Regions from separate parts of the Homo sapiens genome. Here all the other regions are linked to region 2. Evidence: promoter capture Hi-C in 16 types of primary human blood cells and fetal thymus (Javierre and others, 2016). All regions are on one chromosome and are shown on one strand. The core of a region is centred on a gene start or on the middle of the fragment in contact, and the rest is flanking DNA. Distances in the headings are between cores, read along the strand shown. Region 1 holds the start of LOC124904284 (a long non-coding RNA gene). Region 2 holds the start of GALNT1 (polypeptide N-acetylgalactosaminyltransferase 1). Region 3 overlaps LOC105372063 (a long non-coding RNA gene). Region 4 has its middle 41 kb from the start of ZNF396.

The links. Contacts are between HindIII fragments. The CHiCAGO score rates a contact against its expected background, and 5 or more counts as called.
Region 1: a contact is called between a fragment that was not itself captured here and the fragment with the promoter of GALNT1 in region 2, in 2 of 17 cell types (M2 macrophages and neutrophils). The highest score is 5.7, in M2 macrophages.
Region 3: a fragment that was not itself captured here is called in contact with the fragment with the promoter of GALNT1 in region 2 in 4 of 17 cell types (M2 macrophages, M0 macrophages, M1 macrophages and 1 more); the score reaches 12.6 in M2 macrophages.
Region 4: a fragment that was not itself captured here is called in contact with the fragment with the promoter of GALNT1 in region 2 in 8 of 17 cell types (M2 macrophages, erythroblasts, M0 macrophages and 5 more); the score reaches 10.6 in M2 macrophages.

What each region holds. Positions count from the first base shown.
Region 1 is chr18:35,437,149-35,440,682 of GRCh38, forward strand. LOC124904284 (a long non-coding RNA gene) reads right to left here and starts at 2,023. Exons shown (of 2, transcript XR_007066341.1): 1 at 1,619-2,023; 2 at 1-1,141. The HindIII fragment of the contact is 1,644 bases long and covers 1,233-2,876 here.
Region 2 is chr18:35,579,762-35,583,154 of GRCh38, forward strand. It overlaps GALNT1 (polypeptide N-acetylgalactosaminyltransferase 1), which reads left to right and starts at 1,979. Exons shown (of 12, transcript NM_020474.4): 1 at 1,979-2,101. RefSeq lists a silencer at 1,021-1,720. The HindIII fragment of the contact is 12,017 bases long and covers 1-3,393 here.
Region 3 is chr18:35,397,519-35,400,905 of GRCh38, forward strand. It overlaps LOC105372063 (a long non-coding RNA gene), which reads right to left. Exons shown (of 3, transcript XR_935376.3): 3 at 1-37. Among named protein-coding and RNA genes, the nearest start is that of ZNF396, 22 kb to the left of the region's middle. The HindIII fragment of the contact is 318 bases long and covers 1,118-1,435 here.
Region 4 is chr18:35,417,175-35,420,348 of GRCh38, forward strand. No RefSeq gene overlaps it. Among named protein-coding and RNA genes, the nearest start is that of ZNF396, 41 kb to the left of the region's middle. The HindIII fragment of the contact is 2,773 bases long and covers 329-3,101 here.

The DNA of each region.
Region 1 (3,534 bases), core at 805-3,304, 140 kb before region 2:
GATATGGAATGCTTGTCAAGCTCTCAATGCTAGTTCATTTCCACGACCTTCCTGTTAAATTTCTGGTTAGTTCAATACTGCTCATCCCAACCAGGATTGCAACTTCAGTCTAGGAAATCTGCAAGCTTTTCCCACTTGCTGCTGACTGTGGGTTTCTACTTTTCACTTCAAATCAAGTGAAGGCCTGTGCTGTCCAGGTCAAACAACCATGTTGACTGGTGGAGGCAGTTTCAGCAAGAATGCCATGTATTTCCACTGTGTTTACTTGAATCTCCATAGTTTCTTGAGAACATAAATTTCTCAATTTGCTTGCCCCTTGTCAATTTCCAGAGCCCTGAAATAATTGTTTTCGACAATTTTGTCCAGCTTTATAATTGCTTTGCAGGGAGAGGATTTGTTAACCGCTTCACTCCTTCATAGCTGGTAGTCCCATCTATATACAGTATATTTCCAAAGAAATGGATTTTATTATTTTAAGCATGACATCTTATTAACTTAGATATGACTGCATACTAATAAGTAAAGCTAAATTTAGAGAAACTGTGGTTCATGATAGTGTGCCTTTGACATTTTATGATCCAAAACAGAAAAGGTTTTTCAAAAGGCATTTTGAGATAATTCTTAAGATTTCAAGCCTTTGATTTGAAAAGTCTATTTATCTGAATAGTAAGAGTCTCATATTTTCATAGCAGGAAATTATTTCAAGCATTTAATTTAGCAAATGAACTGGAGCCTAAATTAAAGAATTCCAAATTTATTCCTGACCCTGGTTGTTATTGAGGGATAATAAAATATTTCCCTGGTGTCCTGTGAGAGATTGAAGGAATTTTGAGGTCATGATTTATATATTTGCCATCCTCTTTTAAATGGATTCAGCTGTGATGTCTGCAGCACCAGGAGAATTTAAGTGTCTGCCTGAGAGCCAGGACTCTGTCCACGTCAAGCTTTCAGCCAGACCACTTCCCTCAGATCCTTTCTAGTTTTCTCCTTCTTCAGTCCATTCCAATGACCCCTGGTTTTGATGAGGCATAGGACGAGGGGCTACAAGATCAGGAGCACATCTAGCTCTGGCTTCTGAGGCCACATGATCACCTGGGGAGACTGAGACATCCAGGATCCTGGAAGCAGAGCAAAGAGCCATCTGTGAAGAGGAGGAAGAAGACATCTGAAGAAGAAGGTTTTTCTTCAAGAACCACCACACACTTGCCTTCAGATGAAGTTTGAAGCCATTAAGCTTCCCCTTCTTCTTAAAGCTCTCCTTCCCTATTTTTCCTGCATGCCCTCGTTTTTATCACTGACAACACATCGTTCCCTGAGTCTCACTGTCTCCCAAAGAGGAGCTTCAGGTTCATCTTTGTCTCCCCAAGTCTGAAAATATCAGATAATATGCTTGCAACTTCATCTTGATGGCTTAATTCCTGCTCCTGTCATTTACACTTCACTGCCCTGTTTTGTCTCCTTCATCCTGCCCTGCCCAGCCCTGGGAACTCTGTGTCTCCCATATCACTCCCCTGCTGGGGACCTGAATGGCTCCCTACTGCCTCCCTAAGCCAGTCCAAGTTCCCCTGGCTTCCTGGGCCTTCCAGAATCTGTCCTGGCCTTATCTACCCCCACTTACTTCCCAACTGGGAGGTGTTGTGGCCATGGCAGAGGAAGGGATAAAAGACCAGTCATTCAGCCTTGTGTGCCTGTAAAGCAGTGTACCTCTAACAAAAATTTCCTGGCTTAAGAGCATAAAAATAAGTTTTACACAAAATCAATAACAGAAGCACTCAGATTGAAGCATATTTTTAAAGGTATTAGTGGGAGTGATTCAGAGTCAGCAGACCCAGGGTGTGGACATGAGCTCAGAATGGCTTCTCTGGAGCAAAATCTGTGACTTGATCCCGCAAAGCAAAAGCTGCCAGTCCTTTCTCATCACTGTCTCTTTCCTGGTGTGACATGACTATGGTCAGAACTATGTTCTCCAAAAGGATCCACTGAAGTCCTACCCCCAGTACCTCAGAGTGTGACCTTATTTGGATATAAGGTCATTGCAGATGTAATTAGTGAAAATGAGGTCATTAGGGTGGGCCCTAATTTAATATGACTGGTGTCCTTATAAGAAGAGGGAAGAGGCCGGGCGGTGTGGCTCATGCCTGTAATCCCAGCACTTTGCGAGGCCGAGGTGGGTGGATCACCTGAGGTCAGGAGTTCGAGACCAGCCTGGCCAACATGGTGAAACCCCATCTCTACTAAAAATACAAAAAAATTAGCTGGGCGTGGTGGCAGGTGTCTGTAATCCCAGCTACCCGGGAGGCTGAGGCAGGAGAATTGCTTGAACCTGGGAGGCGGAGGTTGCAGTGAGCTGAGATTGCGCCATTACACTCTAGCCTGGGCAACAAGAGTGAAACCCCATCTCAAAAATAAAATAAAATAAAAATAAATAAAAATAAATAAATAAAAAAAAGGAAGATGATGTGATGCGAAGACACAGAGAGAGGCCAGTGTGTGAAAATGGAGGCTGAGATTGGACTTATGTTACCATAAGCCAAGGAATACCTGGGGCTATCAGAATTTGGGAGAAGCAAGGAAGGATCCACCCCTAAGAACTTTAGGGAGGGTATGCCCTGATTGTACCTTGGTTTTAGACATTTAGTCTTCAGAACTGAGAGAATAAGTTTCTGTCATTTCAGCCCAGCCAGTTTGTGGTGCTTTGTTACAGCGGCCCCAGAAAACTGATAAACATGATATGCATATTTTGTTAAAGTCTGTTCACTCCGACTTTGACTTCTACATATCCAAGATAGCAGTCCTGTGTCTGCTATCTGGGACAAAAGCCCACCTGCCCTGTCCTTCTCTCCTGGGCTACCAGGTCCTGCCATGTGTGGGTTTGAAGCTTTGGGAAGCAGACACATTTAATAGATTGAGTTTCATTTTTCCCACAACTTCTCACCCTCACAGAGGAAGGTATAACTCATGCTCACTGTGAAATCAGGGCTGTTCTTGGGCCCCTAGCGAAGTGCTATCCAGACCTGGCTCTGTGACTCTGAGGAAAACGGCAGGAGTGTGAGGCCAGTGCCCTGGATGCAAAGTGCTATCCTTGGGAGAGGCCAAGCAGGGATGGCTGACCGGTGACGATGGTGGCAAGTGACTCCGTCTCTGGACCCTGTCTTTCCTCCTCCCCACACTGTTCAGGGCTCTTGCACAGGCTGTTGCCTCCACTGGGAACTCTCTAACCCGGCTCTTTCTCCTACTTTGTGCCTCGCCTAAGTGTCACCTTCTTCCTTAAGGGAGCGACGTTGTCTCCCCTCCCCATATGCATCCTCCCCAGCCCGTTCTTTGCTTGTCTCATAACATTCATTATTATTCCTCACTATTTTACTTGCTTGCCCACTTGTGGTGAACTGTCTAACAGTGATGCCAGCTTTGTCCCCCATGGGCCCCTGTAGTCTAGTTACTCAGCAGCCAGAGGAATCTGTTGAAACCGAAGTCAGCCCACATCACTCTGCTGTTCAGAACCCTCTGAGGCTCCCCAGACCACTAATAGTAAAA
Region 2 (3,393 bases), core at 729-3,228:
CCTCTATGTTGTATCTTCTATGACTACTTCGTTCCTTTTACTGAGTAGTAGTCCACTGTATGGCATATACTGCATTTTATCCACGCAGCAGTTTCTGGACATTTGGACTGTTTCTACTTCTTGGCTATCATGAATAACACTGTTATTAATATTCATGTACAAGTTACTGTATGAATTTATCTTCAGTTCTCTCAGGCATACGCCTAGGAGTGGAATTGTTGGGTGATAGAATACTTCATGTGTAACTTTTTAAAAAACCTGGAAAACTGTTTTCCAAAGTGGCTGCACCATTTTACATTTCCATAGGCAACGTATGAGGGTTCTAATTTCTCCATCTCTTCACCAACACTGCTATTGTCTGTCTGTCTTTTGTACTACAGCCAGTGTAGTGGGTGTCAAGAACTTCCTTGTTGTGCTTCTAATTTGCATTTCCCTATTAACTAATGATGTTGAACACCTTTTTATGTAATTGTTGATCATTTAAATATCTTTGGTAAAACGTCTATTCAATTGTTTTGCCCATTTAAAATTGGACTATTAGTCTTATTACTGAGTTGTAAGAGTTCTTCATACATTCTGGCTACAAGTCCTTTAACAGATATATGATTTGCCAATCTTTTCTCCCAAGATAAGAGTATTTTTTAACGATGACAACTTTATTCCAAAGTGAAGTTTCCTTGTGGAACAGTAACAGGCTAGTCATGATTGACTTTGTTTCAAAATATTATATAAGTACTTTTAAAATAGTAACTTTTAACTTTTATTTTAGAATACTTGGAAGATGTAGACAAGCAAAAACAGGATACTAAAATTCCAGAGATAATCTTCAGGTTTTTTTTTTTTTTTTTCGGACAGCCTTTTGGTTATGTGAGAGGTAATATAAATTTAAAAGTGGGACCACTTAAATATTAAGTAATCTCTTATTGCAGCTCTTGGTTGGCAAGCAATAAGACACAAACCTCTGAATTATTTAAGTAGAAAATTAATTTATTAAAAGAATGGTTGGTTATGCCTCGCGTGAGTGACAGAGCCAGGGTTTTGTCTTCTATCTTCAGGGCAGGGTACAGCTGGGTATTGGAATTGTACCAAGCAGTGTTTCCCAAGGGGGCACAGAGGGAGGGCCCCTCTCCGGGCACTGTGCGGGAGCCACTTCCCCAAACAGTCCCCGTTCTGCAAGGGCCCCGGCGTTGCTGCCCCCGAGACCCGGGTGCCTGCCCCGGCGGTGCGGGTCGCGGGCCTCCGCTCTCGCCGTCCTCCCTCAGTCCCGGGCCTCCTGCATCGCGGTCGCCAGGCGCAGGCTCAGCGCGGCTGACAGCGCTCCAGCTCCCGCGCTCGCGGCCGCCTCAGGCAGCCGACCGGGTTGGGGCGGCCCCGCGCTCGGCCCGGGAGCCGATCCGCTGTGAGGGCTCCTCCATCTCCTCCCACCCCGTGACCTGCTCGACGCGCAACAGCCCGAGTTGTCTTTAACTTGCTGCGGCAGCCTCTTTGTCCCGACCCAGGGTCGGGGGCACCTCTCGGCCTGGCCCGGCCCTGCCCGTAGCCGTGTGAGCGGGGGCCGGGACTGGGCGGTCGGTCCGGGAGGGGCGCCGCGCCCGACCCCGGAGTCCCGAGCCCGAGGGGAGCGTCGCGGCCCCGCGGTGGGCTCGCCGCAGCGGAGGGGGCGCGCATCCGGGTGAGCGCCGGCGCCCCCGCCTCCCCCGCGCAGCCGCACGGGCCGCCGCCGCCGCTGCCGCCGAGCACGCAGCGCAGGGAGGACCGCGCCCGAGCGCCTGCGGGCGCCCTGCGGCGCCCGCCGCGCGACGAGCCCCAAGTGAGCGGGCAGGCGGCGCGCATGCGGGGCGGCCCGGAGTAGCGCCGCCCGAGCCCGCGAGCGGGGCGCCCGGAGTAGCCGCCGACCCGAGCCGGGCGCGGAGGCGGGGGCGGGCGCGGCGGAGCGGGGCCCGGCCGGACCCGCCCGCCCGCCGGGGGAGCCGCCGGCAGTGGCCGAGGAGCGCGCGGCGGACGGCGGCCCGAGAGTAGCGCGCTGGCCGCGGGACCGGCCGCGACCGCCGCGGCCGGCCCGGAGGACGCCTGCCGCCGCCGCCGCCGCGCGCCTAGCGAGGTGAGTGTATCGCCCGCGGCTGGGCAGTCCCGGAGCCGCAGCGCTGCGCGCGGGTCGGAGGTGGAGAAAGAGGCCCCGCCGCGGCCGCGTCCCCGGTCCCTTTGTGGCCGGCGCTGCCTGGGGCCGGGGCGCGGGCACGCTCGGCGCGGGTTCGGGTCTGGGACCCCGGTGCCGTTGGACACGCGGCGTCTCTGGTTGGCAGCTTTGGCGAGCAGCGAGTTTCCGTCCTAGTTTGACATTGAGTTAGAACCGTTTTTCTTTAGAAGACGGAAGTTTGTTTTATTGACAAAAATAAAGCTAAATATGGCTTCTGGGTTCGGCCGTGTGGTACTTGCAACCGCGGTGCCAGCCTGACCCTCGCGGCGCCACGGGGGAGGGGAAGACACGCCGGCAGCGGGGGAGGGGGCTTCCCGGCCCGCTGCCCCCGAGGAGGACCCGGACCTAAATTAGCAAATGTTTGTGGTTGGGAAGTAGCGGGCTTTAGGTAATGTAGTAGCTTTTCCGCTTTTCCTGGAAGAATGAATGAATGAGATGTCATTTACTCATCCATAATCAATACGTTGCCCATTTAAGCATTTACCAGGAATTGGGATGATTTGCATTGTCATTGCTTCTCTTATCTGGTCAGCCTTGCTAGATGAGGTTCCCTTACTCCCCAGATTTGTGACCTTGTCCTCATTCTCAAAGCCACTGAGCTAACCAACCCGTCTACCAAACTCACTTGGCATTTTTTTGGTCAAGTGGGCAATAGGCAAAGTAGTCTTTCTGAACTGTTTCTGGAGGGCAGAGAATGTCACTTTGATCATATCTTATGTTTAATACATTGCTTTATAATCGTGTCAAGAACGCTGAGAGTTAGGAGGTCTTGTCATTTCACAGATGAAATAGTGAAGGCCCTAAGAAGTTGCAACTTTTCAGGTCACAATCTGAGCAGCAGAGTTGGGATTCAAACCTAGACCTTGTTAGTCCAGTCCTCTTTACATCACATCTGTGTCCAGACCTGGACTGTCCAGCGTGGGAGCCACTAACCACATGTGACTATTAAAATTAAATTTTAAAAATTCAGCTCCTCGGTCACAGTAGCCACATTTCAAGTGTTCCATAGCTAAATGTGGTTCTTTGCTACAGTTGAACAGCCCTGGTCTAAATTATACATACATTTGTTGTGTCAGTAAATATTTACTGAATGCGATCTGTCTATGAGGCACAGTTTTAAGTTCTGGGTACATGGTGAATAAGGGAGACACAATGTCCTTGCCCTATTGGAATTGACATTTTACATGATCCTTTGA
Region 3 (3,387 bases), core at 27-2,526, 180 kb before region 2:
GTACAGTACCTTTATTAAAATTCAACAGTCATCATGGCTGTGGAGTGAAACAGCAAAACAGTTATTACTCTGAGTTTCCCTCCTCAGAAATCATTTAGGAATGGCAAATTGCAAAACTTCCTTGGGTCATAGATGTCTCCTAAAGGAGGGCAATACTTAATAACATAGTTTTATACATGGAAACATAATGAAATTTCCTAAGTAATTTGCAAGGCTGCTGTAACACTATCATGCACATAGTCACATTTATTTTAAAATAATGCTTTGTTTTATAGAGCACTTAGAGGAACTCAGAATAAGGAGACTGAACTTCTAACATTATTAAAATGTGGCTCCAATTACAGTTAACAAAAGATATTTTCCCTGCTGAAGGAACTGCCTTATAGTGACAGTGACCACCTTTCTATAGTGCTATAGAAAGAGAGACACTCTTTCCTCTGAGATAATGAAGGCTGGAGAGGAATACAGATTTTATACATTTCCAAATTGTTTCCCACACAAGACAGCCAAGGAGCGTAAGTAGTAGATTCTCCTTTTCCTGTATCAGAAATCAACTTACTAATCCTAGCAACAAAATAGCTCACATTTCATAGGCACTTGATACTACTGTGACAAGTGCCTCATACACACCATCCCACTGAATCCTCTCTGCAGACAGGAAGTGCCTGTTAACCATTGAGCTAGGGCTGAGCTCCTCTCCAGGATTCATTCCTTTTGTGCTTCAGAGCATCCTGGAGGCTGGAGGCTTGCTCCTCAGTGGCTTCAGGAGCAGAGGCCTCTCCTAGGTCCTAGGAGTCTGCCATGGGGGCTTCTTCCAGGGCTTCTTTGCCCAGGACCAAGAAAATCTTCATCGAATTGGACAGTATGAAGATCCTTGGTCCCCTTTCCTAGAACTGTTTACAGGGAAGGCTTTGAGTGAACGTGAAGATTGCAATCAGCTGATGACTAAATTAGAGGAGCAGAAAGGAGGCATTAAGTAGAGACGTTTGTGATAGGATAAGACTCTGAAACAGCAACTTCTGATGATGCTGTTCTCAGTAAATTTCCTTCTCACCTCATAGCCTTTCTATCACTCAAGTCATGAGCCTGAAGTGGGTATTGTTTCAAGGGACAGAAAAGCTTAGAGTTTTTCCAAATAGTTTTTTTAACCACATAGTGGGAACAATAGTCTTTAAAACCAATATTTTAAAAATTCCAATAGAACATTTATCTTTTTAAATAGTGGGCTTTTTGAGAAATTTCCTCATTCCTTTCCTTTCTTTTCTTGAGTTATAAAAATTCATCTTTGAAAATTCAAAGCTGACATCTGAAGGATCTCAAATACAAAGTTCATAGCATAAACAATAGTTAGTGGGGAAAATGCATGCTAGCATGAGTTAAAGTGTGACAGGCTAGTAGAATGAGAAAACTAGAAAACGGGAAGGCAGGTGACTAAAGCTTAGGAGCTGGTGGCTTTCTGAGCAGGCACCATTAGATGCCTGCCCAATAGCAGTTCTCTCTTTTTGAAACCAGTCATTGTAATCCAACTCCTTCTCTTTTTATTACCTACTTACATTTCCAGCCTCATTTGTTGCTAGGATGAATGGCCAAGAGATCCAGTTATTAGCAATGAGAACAAAGGAAAAAATGACCTGGAAAGCATTTGGGAAAGACTTTGCTCCTGATAAAAGGAAAGCCCTTTCCCCCTTGCCATTTTCTTCCTGACTTCAATGCAGTTGTGTAAGAAAGTGATGCTTGAAGCTGCACGGTTTGGAAATCATGAGATAATAAAGCAAAAAATGAAATGCAAGCACATTGAGAATGGCAGGTGTGGTAGACAGACTAATGTTCTCCAAAGATGGCCATGTTCTATCCCTGAAACCTGTGACTATGTTATGTTGCCTGGCATGGGGGAATTAAGATTGCAGATGGAATTAAGGTTGCTAATTAACTAACTTTAAAAATAAGAAATTATCTTGGATAATCCTGGTGGGTCCAGTGTAAGCACAGGGTCTTTAAATGGAAGAGGGAGGCAGAAGAAGAGGTTGGAGTCAGAGAAACGAATGTGCTACATTGCTGGACGTGAAGGTGGAAGAAGGGGCCATGAGCCATGGAATGTAGGCGATCTCTAGAAGCTGGAAAAGACAAGGAAACAGATTCTCTCATGTAGCCTCTAGAAGGCTCCAAGGCTGTTGGCACAGCCCTGACAACACCTTTGTTTTAGCCAAGTTAGACCATTTTACACTTCTAACTTCTAGAACTGTAAAACAATAAATTCATGCTGTTTTAAGTCACCACGTTTGTGGTAATTTGTAACAGCAGCAGTAGGAAATGAATACAGCCACTCAAGGGCAAAACACCTCCCAGCCCCCCATGCAGCAAGGTGTGACCATGTGTGTAAGTAACTTCCCACTCATATCCTGAAAAGAAAGCTCCTTGCTCTCAGCTTACATTTTATTTCTATAAAGTAGAAAATGGTCATGCAAATGATTGGCCTATTTCTACCTGGTAGATGTGAACAACCCTGTAGGGGTTGGCTGAAGCCACAGATAGAATAACCTGGATCCCTGAATAATAGTAAGTTGCAGAGACACATACACTCCTTGTTCACCCACCTACTGAGACTTTCACACCAAGGGGAAATAAACTCTCTGTCTTGTTTAAGTCACTGTTATTTAGCATGTACAGAAGTCTTGTAGCTAATATCCTGTATTTCTCTTGGAAACATAGAATTGAGCAGACAAAAAACTCAGCAAAAATTTAGAAGATTTGAACAATTCAATTAATAAACTGGATTTCTATACAGAATATAGAATATATATTTAATATATACAGAATATACAGAATACTGCACCCAACAACTGCTGAATACATTTTCTTTTCAAGGACGCATGGAATCTTCACCAAAACTGACCATATGCTGGGCTCTAAAGTAAGTCTCAACAAATCTCACAGGGTTGAAAATCATACACAATTTTCACAGGATTAAAATTATACAGAATGTTTGCTTACCACAATGCAATTAAGCTAGAAATTAATTACAAAATTACAAAAAGACAACTTTAAAAATATTCTTATGTTTGGAGATTATAAAATATATTTCTAAATAATCCATGTGTCCAAAAATAATTTACAATGAATATTATAAAACATTTTAAATTAAATGGTGATATCTTGAATCACCAAGAGTAGATTTTAAATGTTCTCACCACAGTGATAAGTATGTAAGGTAATGAGTATGTTAATTAGCTTGATTTAGCCATTCTACAATGTATACATATTTCAAAACATCACGTGGTACATGATGAATATATCCAATTTATTTGTCAATTTAAAGTAATTTAAATATAAATTAAAAATACTAAAATGAATAACAATTAACTCCCAATTAAAATAAGTAAATGGTAG
Region 4 (3,174 bases), core at 465-2,964, 160 kb before region 2:
TTCCTTGTGTCCTTTTGTAATTCCTTTCTCCCATCTCTCTCCACATCCCTGTCTTTGTGTAACCTGTGATGCCCTCTCATCACTATAGATTAGTTTGCATTTTCTAAAGTTTTTAGTTAATGGAATCATACAGGAGGTACTTTTTTGTCTGGCTTCTTTCATTTGGCATGATAATTTTGAGATTCATCCATCTTGTAGCACGAATCAACAATTCCTTCCTGTTTATTGCTGAGTAGTATTCCACTGTATGGATATACCACAATTTATTTACCCATTCACTGGTCAGTGGACAGTTGAGTTGTTTTCAGTTGTTGGCTATTACAAATAAAGCTTCTATGAACATTTGCATAAAATTGTTTGCAGGAACATATGCTTTCTTTTCTTTTGGGTAAGTACATGGGAAAGAAATGATTGGGTTAGAGGGTAGGTATATGTTTAACTTCTTAAGAAGTTGCCAGACTGTTTTTCAAAGTGTTGGTATAATTTTACATTCCCACAAGCAGTGTAAGAGTTCTAGTTCCTTCAAATCCTTACCAGCAGGTTGTATGATTAGTCTTTTTAATTTTAGCCATTCTAGCAGGAGTGCAGAGGTATCTTATTGTGGTTTTAATTTTCATTTTCCTAATTACAAAGATGTTGGGCATATTTTGCTTATTTGCCATTCATGTATCCTCTTCAGTGAAATGAGTGTTTAAGCCTTTTGCCTACTTTTAAAATTGGTTTGTCTGTTTTTCTTTTATTGTGCTTTGAGAAGTCTACATATATTCCAGATAGAAGTTCTTTATTATATATGTAATTTACAAATATTTTCTCCTAGTCTCTGGCTTGTATGTTCATTCTCATAACAGTCTCTTGAAGAACAACTGTTTTATGGATGAGGTCTACTTTATCAAATTGTTCTTTTATGAAACGCGTCTGTATGTAAAGGAATTGTGTATATAAGAAGTGTGGTGTGTAAGTGTTGTATATAAGTCTTTGCTTAACTCAAGTTTATGATGAACATTTCATGTTTTCTTCTAGAGGTTTTGTGGTTTTAGGTTTTAAATTAAGGCCTATTTACTACTTTTCTACTGCAGCATAACAAATTACCAGAAATGTAGCAGCTTAAAACAATGCAAATTTATTATCTTACTGTTTCTATAGGTTAGAAATCCAGCATGGCATGACTGTATTCTTTGGGCTAAAATCAAGTTATTGGCTAAAGCTGCAGTTCTGTGTCTTTGGGTCCTCTTCCAAGCAAACTAAGGTCTTTGGCCAATTTCAGTTACTTGTGTAATTACTTCAGTAAGTAATTACATTCATTTGGCTTGATAATTTTGAAATTCATCCATCTTGTAGCATGAATCAACAGTTCCTTATTACTTCAAGAAGTAATTACACAAGTAATTGAAGTTGGCCAAAGTAATTACTTATTGAAGTAATTCAATTACTTATGGTCATACGACTGAGATCTCTGTTCCTTGCTGGCTATTAGCCAAGGGCCTTTCTCTCAGCAATTTAAGGCTGTCCGTATTTCTTCTCACATGGCCAAGCTCCATCTTCAAACAAGCAATGGTACACTGACTCTTCATGCTTTGACTCCCTCTAACTTCCATTTCTGTCTTTTTCTTCTGCTTTTAAGGACACATGTGGATTACATTGGAACCACGTGGAAATCCAGGGTAGCCTCCCTATTCTAAGTCAGCTGATTAGTAACCTTAATTACCTCTGCAAAGTCATTTTTGCTATGTAACATATTCAGTCTTGGGGATCAGGGTATAGAAACTTTTTGGTGGACGTAATTCTTCTTACCACAGTCAATGACCCTGATATGGTTTAGCTGTGTGTCCTCACCCAAATCTCATCTCGAATTTTAATCCCCATGTGTTGAGAGAGGGAAGTGACTGGATTATGAAGGCCATTTCCCCCATGCTGTTCTCGTAATAGTGAGTGAATTCTCATGACATCTGATTGTTTTATAAATGGCTATAAATGGTAGTTTTTCCTGCACTCTCACACATTCTCTCTCTCGCCTGCAACCGTGTAAGACATGCCTGCTTCCCTTTCCACCATGATTTTAAGTTTCCTGAGGCCCCAGCCATATGGAACTGTGAGTCAGTTAAACCTCTTTTCTTTATAAATTACCCAGTCCAGGGCAGTTCTTTATAGCAGTGTAAGAATGGACTAATATAGATCCATTTTGTGTTAATATTTATATATAGTGTGAAGTATGAATAGTTCATTTGTTTTCATGTGGATATGCAATTGTTCCAGCATCATTTGTTAAAAAGGCTATCTGCAATGATCTGGATGTGTCCTCCCAAAATTCAGATGTTGAAATTTAATCACAAATCTGACAGTATTGAGAGGTGGGACTTTTAGGAAGTGATTAAGTCATGAGGCAGAGATGCCATGAATGGGATTACTGCCCTTATAAAAGAGGTTGAAGGGAACAGCCTTGACCTGCCATGTGAGGATGCAGTAACAAGGTGCCACCTTGGAAAAAGAGATCATTCCCTCACCAGACACTAAATCTGATAGTGCATTGATTTTGGACTTCCCAGCCTCCAGAACTGTGAGCAATACATTTCTATTATGTATAAATTACTCAGTCTAAGGTATTTTTGTTATAGCTGCCTGAATGAACTAAGATACTTTTTCTCTACTGGATTTCCCTGTACCTTTGTCAAAAATCCTTTGTCAATGTATGTTTGGGTCTATATCTGGACTCTGTATTCTGTTCCATTTATCTGATTGTTTATTGCTATGCCAATACAACACTGTTTTGACTATCACAGCATTACAGTGTCTTGAAGTCTGGTAGAGTTAACCGCAATTTTTCTCTTATTTTTCAAAGTTGTTTGAATATTTCAGGTTTTTGCATTTCTATGTGAATTTTAGAATCAAAATATCAATTTCTATATGAATAATACTGGATTTTGAGATTGAATTGAATATATAGATTAATTTAGGGAGAATTGACATCACAACTATATGTTGTGTTTTCTTACCACCGAACAAAATATAATCTCCTTTTATTTAGATTTTCTTTTATTTATCTCAGCATTGTTTTATATTTTTCAGTGTAGAGCTCTTTCACATCTTTTGTCAGATGTATCCCAAGCTTTTCATTTTTTGGAAACATTGTATTTTAATATCAATATATGATTGTTCATTCCTAGTATATAAAAAAGG